3 separate regions of the Homo sapiens genome follow, and all the other regions are linked to region 2. The links are contacts of gene promoters, found by promoter capture Hi-C in blood cells and fetal thymus (Javierre and others, 2016). All regions are on one chromosome and are shown on one strand. The core of a region is centred on a gene start or on the middle of the fragment in contact, and the rest is flanking DNA. Distances in the headings are between cores, read along the strand shown. Region 1 holds the start of CCDC102A (coiled-coil domain containing 102A). Region 2 holds the start of SPMIP8 (sperm microtubule inner protein 8). Region 3 holds the start of DOK4 (docking protein 4).

The links. Contacts are between HindIII fragments. The CHiCAGO score rates a contact against its expected background, and 5 or more counts as called.
Region 1: the fragment with the promoter of CCDC102A here is called in contact with the fragment with the promoter of SPMIP8 in region 2 in 1 of 17 cell types (neutrophils); the score reaches 8.8 in neutrophils.
Region 3: a contact is called between the fragment with the promoter of DOK4 here and the fragment with the promoter of SPMIP8 in region 2, in 4 of 17 cell types (monocytes, erythroblasts, fetal thymus and 1 more). The highest score is 7.4, in monocytes.

The regions. Positions count from the first base shown.
Region 1 is chr16:57,535,186-57,537,885 of GRCh38, reverse strand. CCDC102A (coiled-coil domain containing 102A) reads left to right here and starts at 1,315. Exons shown (of 9, transcript NM_033212.4): 1 at 1,315-1,386. It also overlaps a transcript of ADGRG5 not described here. RefSeq lists a silencer at 1,073-2,022. The HindIII fragment of the contact is 24,074 bases long and covers 1-2,700 here.
Region 2 is chr16:57,975,098-57,977,797 of GRCh38, reverse strand. SPMIP8 (sperm microtubule inner protein 8) reads right to left here and starts at 1,254. Exons shown (of 8, transcript NM_199456.3): 1 at 1,164-1,254. The HindIII fragment of the contact is 9,202 bases long and covers 1-2,700 here.
Region 3 is chr16:57,485,043-57,487,742 of GRCh38, reverse strand. It overlaps DOK4 (docking protein 4), which reads left to right and starts at 1,250. Exons shown (of 9, transcript NM_018110.5): 1 at 1,250-1,438. RefSeq lists a silencer at 1,070-1,369 and an enhancer at 1,201-1,997. The HindIII fragment of the contact is 22,139 bases long and covers 455-2,700 here.

The DNA of each region.
Region 1 (2,700 bases), core at 66-2,565, 440 kb after region 2:
CAAACCCCACATACATCTCCTATCTATCTCTGGCTGGTGAACAGACGCTTTCAACATTCAGCCACGCATAACAAATACAAAGCAAATGAATCGACAAGTGAAACTGCCAGTCTTGCAACGTATGGGATTTCATGAAGTTGGTGGAAGCAAAGCAGGAGAAATGGAACAGCCGCTGCCCACAGAGAAAGGGAACGTCTGCAAGGGAAGTGACCCAGACCCGAAAAAAGGCACTGGACTATCAAAGGATTCAGAGTGATCCTTGAGTTTGAGGAAGCTCTCAAATATTTTTGCAAAAATGAATCTCTTACTGCAAAAACCAGTTCAGAAGGGAAGGATGCTACATACTCAACTATTACAAGAAAAAGCAAGACTTCCAGTGTTAACATCTGATTCATTCTTGGTTCATTTTAAGGCGTGCGTGGTTGCAATCATAATCTAAACTCCGTTAATCACGGGGTAAAACTAATTTATCTTCGTAATATTTAGCTTCTTTTTCTAGGTAAAATCCCAATCAGGCCAGGTTTTCCCCACCATCTTGGTGAATTGTTGGTCTTCTTTTAAATAGATTCACCTCGGGGGCCTTCCAGGGTACAGGATGTAGTGGGGAGTCCTCCAGACGCCTGTCCCGGCTTTCCAGTCAAGACCACAAACATCCTACCCCCAATAGAGAGAAAGCCCCAAAACAGCTGGGCGTCCCCGAAGGCGAAGTACCGTAATTCCCCAGGGCCTGCCAACCACCATCGCAATGCAGAGAAAAGTCTCCGCCCGCCGGGCCGAGTGCTCCCCGCGCCCCCCACCTCTTAACAAGCGCAAGGTTGCTTTCGTCAACCCTTCTGTTGTACAGAAAGAGAAACTGAGGCCCGATGGGCACAGACTTGTTGGCCCACTTCCACTCGGTGGCAGAGCTGGCCCAGGGAAAAATGCAGGTAACAACAGTGAAGACTTGGTAAGCTCGCTCCACGTGCCGAGCTGGGACCCGCGGTGGCCGTTTCTGCTGGGGGCGCCTAGTACGTAGTTGGCGCTGAGGAAACCTGAACCAAGAAAGCCGAGCCCCCCCGCAACTCTCGGCCCCTCACGGGGGTGGGGCCTCCGTTGGGGTACGGCCCGCTCTGCAGCAGAGCCCACCGCCCCGGCCCGCACCCCTCGCCCCGAAGTTAGGCTGGAGCCCCCACCCCAGCAGCTCGGTGGGCCGGGGTCACAGCGGGGCCGCAGCCTGCGACCGCTTCGGGGGCCCCGCCGCTCCCCCTGCTTCCCCTCCCCCCGGGAGGGAGGAGGAGACTCCGCGGCCCTCCCTCGGCCCCTCCGGCGGCGGTCGCAGCTGCACGGTGCCCGCTCTACCCCGCCGCAGCGGCTGGGACGTACGGAGCCCGCAAGTCCCGGCCCGAGGTGAGCGGGGGCGGCAGGCCGGGGGGCGGCAGGCCAAGGCGGCCCGGGAACTTGCTCCAGGCCGCGCGCCTTCCGCGGGAAGGAAGGGGTTAAGTTGTGGGGCGTGCTGGAGGAGCAGACACAGTCGGGGCGCCCGCGGCAACCCCCGAACTCAGAGCAGAACTTTCTAGACGCCTCCCCGGCCTCCCTCAGCCCCCGGAACCCCAGGTCTCCGGTGGGGAGGGGCCGCGGGGTGATGGGGGAGGGGAGGCGCCTCCGGAATGCCGCGGCCCGGGCCGGACGGGAGGGGGCGGCGGGCGGGGACGGAATTTGGGACTCTCCCGGGGGACCCAACGTGGTCGCCATGGCGAATGCGGGATGGACGGGCGGCGCTGGCCAATCAGAGCACGGCGCCCTGCCCAGAGCCGCGGCGACTGCCAATGGGGGCCATGCGGTGGGGTGGGCGGGACCGCGCGGCGCGGGCCGGGAACCCCCTCCACCCTCCGCCCGTCGCTAGGTGGAGCGGGGCGGTTCGCAGGGCCAGCGGCTTGGGAGGGGTCGACTAAGTGAGGACTAAGGCGACGCAGGGCTGGGGCTTCAGTTTCAGTACCTTAGGTGGGGGTGGTGTCCACCTTCCCACCCCCGCTCTCCCAGGGCTCTTGTGGGGGTTGGATTGGTTTGGGTTCGGGAGGTCTGCCCACCTGTTAGAGCGTTCAGGAATCTTTTTAGTGCCTCTCCCCATCCTGTAGGTAAGGAAACTGAGGCCCAGAGAGGGCAGGGACTTGCAGATATCACACAGCATATCAGTGATGGAGCTGGGACTAGCGGGATGTCTGCTGTACAAGAGTGAAGAGTTCACGGTGTTGCCGAGAGGGGTGGGGCTGGGGTCGGGGTGGGGCTGGGTCCCCATGAAGGTTCACCCCACCATTCCAGCTGTGCGTATCCACTTGGCCTGGTGCCTGCAGACCCCATCGTGTAGGTGCTCTCGGGGGCATTGTGCCCCTCAGGTGGCTAAGATCCAGAAGAGGAGGCATCCCATCACCAGCTCCCTACTCTGGCCTTGCTGCTGGTCCGCGGTGTGGACACAGACACGTAGCTGTCCCTCTGGGCCTCAGTTGGTCCATATGTAAAGAAAGGAGTTCAAATCAATGATCCAGGCTGTCTCTGTGGCTCCTCAGTCTAAGATGGGGCTACCTGGGAATAGGCCAGGGGTGCCTACCCCTGGGCTTAGGTCCAGCCTGGAGGCCTAGCCGCCATCCCTTCCTTTCCCGCCAGCCAGCTCCCCCCAGAGGTCCTGCAGCTGGATCCTGGGCAGCAGGTCACAGGGACAGGTGC
Region 2 (2,700 bases), core at 5-2,504:
CTAAGGGGCTCACCCTGGGCTCATGCTGGCCAGACACCCTTCTCTGCATGAAAACAACCTTGGCCAGTGCCGATGTCTACTTGCCAAACATTTATTTAGCACCTACTGTGTGCCAGGCCATTTTTCTGGAGCTCAGCATGAGGTGGCAGGAACATTCAGATAACAGAAGATAACAGAGACAACCCTCCCACTCCCCTTCCAACACACACATACACACACACACACACACACACACACTCACATTGTGCCATGGCTGTGAGGGAGGTCAGTACAGAGTGTGTGTTTCTGGGGAGGCTGGGGTTAGGACATTCAAGGAATGGTCTAAAAGAGGTGGTATTTGAGTCTATTCGTTTTTTTTTCTTTCTTTCTTTTCTTTTTTTTTTTTTTTTTGAGACAGTCTCACTCTTCTGCTCAGACTGAAGTACAGTGGCGCCATCTTGGCTCAATGCAACCTCTGTCTCCTGGGTTCAAGTGATTCTCCTGCCTCAGCCTCCTGAGGAACTGGGATTATAGGCATCCACCACCACATGTGACTAGTTTTTGTATTTTTAGTAGAGACGGGGTTTCACTGTGTTGGCCAGGCTGGTCTCGAACTCCTGACCTCAAGTGATCCACCCGCCTCAGCCTCTCAAAGTGCTGGGATTACAGGTGTGAGCCACCTTGCCTGGCGAGTCTATTCTTAAATAATAAGCAGGAAAGTGCAGCAGCAAGCGGGTTCAGAATGTAGCTTAGTATGCCGTATACCTCTGGGTGAATAATTATGGACTTGCCCTAGCTATTTACCCAAAATTCTACAGATTGACTCAGAAAGATTTTCAGGAAGGGGAGCAACATGATATATTTAAACTAGAAAAGCATTACTGGATACCCAGTGCCTCCCTTTAAAAAGCAGATAGTCCCAGGAGCCTTTCAGTCATTTACACTTTAGTGAGAATTTGTTGAGACAGCTTGCTTTCTTCCTGACCCTGAGTTAGAGGTGAGAGGTGGAGGTGGAAGCTAGGGTGGCAGGAGGAGAGAGGACCTTAGATCATGGAGGAGCAGGGAGGGGGCATGGTGACAAGGCATGGGGAAGCTGCCTTAGGGGATGTGACTGCCTGGGGAGGGACAGGGAGGGGGATCACGGATATGGGGAAGAGAGCAAGGGCTCCCTGCTTCTGACTCACCAATAGCAGCTACCTTATCTGTAGGGCCCAGGCCCAGGTGCACAGGCTTATAAGGACTTTCAGTTCTTTGACTGCTCAATGGGCAGAAGAGGAAGGGAGGTGGACGAGCCCTTATTATGGACAGCAGCAGAATAAAGGAACATTGTGCACAGACAATGCCCATTGCAGCCTGATTCTGAGGCACCCACTCCTTAGCAACCCTGGCAACTACAGGCTCTAACAAGAGCCTGTGCCAGAATTCCTGTGCTCTGGCCACTCCCTTCCAGCCTTCCTGAAGGCTGTGGTCTCCCAGGCCTTAGCACAGGCCAGGCATCTTGGGAAATGTCAGATGGGGAGCTGGGGTTCCCTGGAGGTAGTCAGGCCAAGGCAGGCCAGAAATGGCTACTGAGCCCACTGCAGGCTGTGTAATCCTGGGCTAATTACCGCCTCTCTCTGGGACTCAAGGCTCTCCTCTGTGTTAGGCAAGGACTCTAGGATCTGCCGTTAGGAGGATCTGGATGCTGAGAGGGATCTCCCCTCCCTGGAACCCTCAGGGAAGAGGGCACTGCACTGTCTGCCAGCCCTTGAGTCTCCAGGAGTGGAGATTAGCTGTGGCCAGTATCCAGGGTAAGCGTGAGGGGATCAGGGAGAGTGGTGGACTCAGCAGGCCAGGGATTAGCAGATGATACTCCACCCTCAGCCCCTGCAGGACTGCAGGCTCCCAGAAAAGCCAGGCTGTGAGTGCCCAAGGCCAGCACCCCAAAGCCCTGGGGCCTGCCCACCATCCTGGTCACAACCATTAGAGACAGACCCCCAAGGTGAGGAAACCCCAGGAGATCCTAACTTATTTGCATATATTGGCATGTGCTTTTGCATATACCTGCCCAGGGGCTGAACCTGATGGGTCTTGGAGCCCCTCCTGTGAAATTCTTGTAGGATTTGTTTCCCCAGTTGCTCCTCCTCCAGTGCTCCATACAGCTTCCAGAACAGCATTCCTAACTGCTACCCCTTACAAAAAACCTTCCCAGAGTTGACTCCACTCACCACCCCACCCCCAATTTATTTCTTGACTCTTTTAAAGTTATAAAATAGAAGAAATACAGAAAGTGAATAAATATCTAATGTAACTAATAATTTACAAAATGAGACCCCGTATAACTACCACCCACCCTGGTCAAGACATGGAGTACTACTTTTAAAACAGTTTATCAGTTTCTTAAAAAATGAAACAGAAATGTACCATATGATTGGGTCATCTGGAAGATTCTACCCCAGGAGGCTTCCCAAGAGAAATGAAAGTATATTGTGAGGCACGATGGCTCACACCTGTAATCCCAGCACTTTGGGAGGCTGAGGTGAGCAGATCACTTGAGGTTGGGAGTTTGAGACCAGCCTGGCCAACATGGTGAAAACCTGTCTCTACTGAAAACACAAAAATTAGCTGGGCGTGGTGGTGCAAGCCTGTAATCCCAGCTACTCAGGACGCTGAGGCAGGAGAATCGCTTGAACCTGGGAGGCGGAGGTTGCAGTGAGCCGAGATCGCAGCATCGCACTCCAG
Region 3 (2,700 bases), core at 1-2,500, 490 kb after region 2:
CTTGGCCATGGGCCTGGGGCTGGTTAGCTCAGGCTGATCACAGACACCACAATGACCATCAGGGAAATTTTCAGACATCCAGAGGCAGCCTCCTTTTAAGCTCCCTGGGCAAGGCTGAGGCCCAGGCGTCTCCGGGGCAGGGGCATGCATTCCATGGGTGGGTGTTGGGATCCTTGGTCCCTCACTGCTTTAGGCCTATTCCTCTGAGACACCTGGACAGTAGCTGGATGTGGAGGTATTTTCATTTCTCAGGATTTTGGCTGTTCAGGTGGCCTATTGTTTTGTTTTGTATATATGGTCTAAAGCAGTGGTTCTCACACATTCGTGTGCATCAGAATCACCTGGCCTGTTAAAACACACATTTCTGCTGGAAACCCCCAAAAATTCTGATTTCATAGGTCTGAGTAGGGCAGGGAATTTGCATTTCTAACAAGTTTCAAGGTGATGGGAAGCTTCTGGTCCAGGGACTACACTTTGAGAAGCCCTGGTGTAAAAAGGTACAGACGTGAAAACCAGAGGGGGGACAGCTCCTCCCCAGAGGAGGCACTGGGCAACTTCTCTTGTCCCTGCCTGGCACAGCTGAGGCCTGTGACTGGGGATTCCGACAGATCAGTGAGTCAACCACTGCACAGGCCCGAAGGGCAGAGGTGAGGGGGTTGGGGGCTGGGTGGGGGCAGCAATGAAGGGGAATGAAGTTTGAGCTTGAGGGCAAAGTCTCAGGGGGACCTAGAATGGGAGAACTGGATGTTTTGAGGGTGGAGAGGAGACCAGGGAAGACAGAGGTGCTGGTGCGGCTACTTGAGGAGGGGTAGCAGAGGAGGTCACTGTGGGGCTGGGAGAGCTGGGCTGTGAGGGCCCAGAGAGTCATGATGGGGTTAGGGGAGCAATGGGTGTGTATGTGATTCCTGAAGAAGTGAAGGAATTGAGATATGGGGGCTGGGAGCTGATGTGGCGTATGGGTGTGTATGTGATTCCTGAAGAAGTGAAGGGGTTGAGATGTGGGGGCTGGGAGCTGATGTGGAGTTCAGCTTTCAGGGGCTGAGAGGCCATGTGGGCTTTGGGGCCCAGGGAGGGGCGGTGGGAATGAGCTGGGGGTACCGGGGGCGACCTGAAGCGGGTGCGGGGGTGCCAGGGCGCCAGGGCAGAATCGCGCGTCCCGCGGCTCGGAGGAATACGGCGGGGGCCGGCCGCCAGGGCGGGGCAGGGGGCGGGGCGCAGCGGCGAGACCTGGCGGAGGGGGGAGCGGAGCGGAGTCCCAGCCGGAGCCCCAGCCGGAGCCCGATCCCTAGCCCTGCGGCCGCGCCTCCCTCGCCGTCCCCGCCTGGAGCCCGGCGCCGCCGCCGCCCTGCCGCCCCCGCCAGCCGCGCCGTGACGCGGGCATGAGCCTGCTCCGCGGCGCCGCTGAGCAGGCGCTCCTGGCCCGGGCCTCGGCGCCCAGGTAAATTGGGGGGCGTGAGGCAGGGAGGGGGACATAGGCCGCCCAGAGCCTGCAAGAGTCTCGGCGACTCCCACCCCTGAGGACCCTCAGTCACTTCCTGAACCTGAGGACGCTCCGTCCCATGGGACCTTCCTACTCTCGGGTGGGGAGCTTAGAGACCCGCCCCCCAAAAGCCAGTGCCTGGGCCCTGAAACTCCCTGCGCTCTCTCCACCCGCAGCTTTCCTCTCCGGGGGAGCCCAGGTCGCGAGCTGACCTCACCCGCACCCACACAAACCTCATCCGAGCAACCCAGGCCCTGCGCTCCCGGGCCTGCCCCCCCGGAAGGGGCATAACCCAGCCCCTGGCAGCTCCCAACCTTCTCTCTGCCTTCCTGCTCCTCCCCGGGGCCTCCTGTTCGCTCACCTCCTCCAAATTCCAAGAGATGATTTTCTGTACCCCAGCTGGCCCCCACTGCCGACCCCCTCCTGCCTATGGGGTTTCTCCCCACAGCCCAAACTCATGGCCAGCTGCCTCCTGTCCTTGAACCTTTCTCCATTGGCCCCCAAGGTCCTGTCCACCTTCTCCCCCAGGGCCCGCAAGGCCCTAGATCCAGTTACATGCTTTCTATTACTGAAAAGGGGCATGAGCCGAGGCTGGGCACCTGGGTGATGTGGCAGAGCAGGGGCTCTGTGCAGCCTGCCTGCCCCAAGCCATGGGGACACGTCAGTTGCTGGGGCGCTTCCGCTTGGATGGAGGGTGTGGGTTGGAGGGGTCTGATGGCCAGGGCAGCGAGGGGCCTGGCAGTATCTCTAGGAGACTCCACTTGGGCAGTGTGAGGTGGGCTTGCTTAGGGCAGGTTCTTTCCTGGACCCTTTCAGAGGGATGTGGCGCTGGTACAGGCTCTTCCTGCCCCCACCCCCAACTCTGATCCCAGGAGCTGTGCCTCCTCTCCCCAGTTGCTTGCCTTGCTGTGCTGGTACTGGTTACTCCCAGCACTTCCCTCCTGGGCAGGGCAGCAGGGCTGGGCATGACCTCACCCCACAACCCTGGCCAAGGTGGGGCCGCCCAACTAGGCCTGGCCTCGATGTCAGCAGCATGCTCTTCCCTGAGGCAGCTCTGAACCAAACTGCGGGTCTTGGGCACAGCTGGTTCTCCAGTAACAACAGCCTGCTGGCCATGCCAGTCAGCGCTGAGACCCAGGAGCTGGGAGCCCACTGTGGCTCACGCACCTCTGGAAGCTGAGCCAGGTCCAGCCAGATGGAGGCTGGTGGTGGTGGAAGAA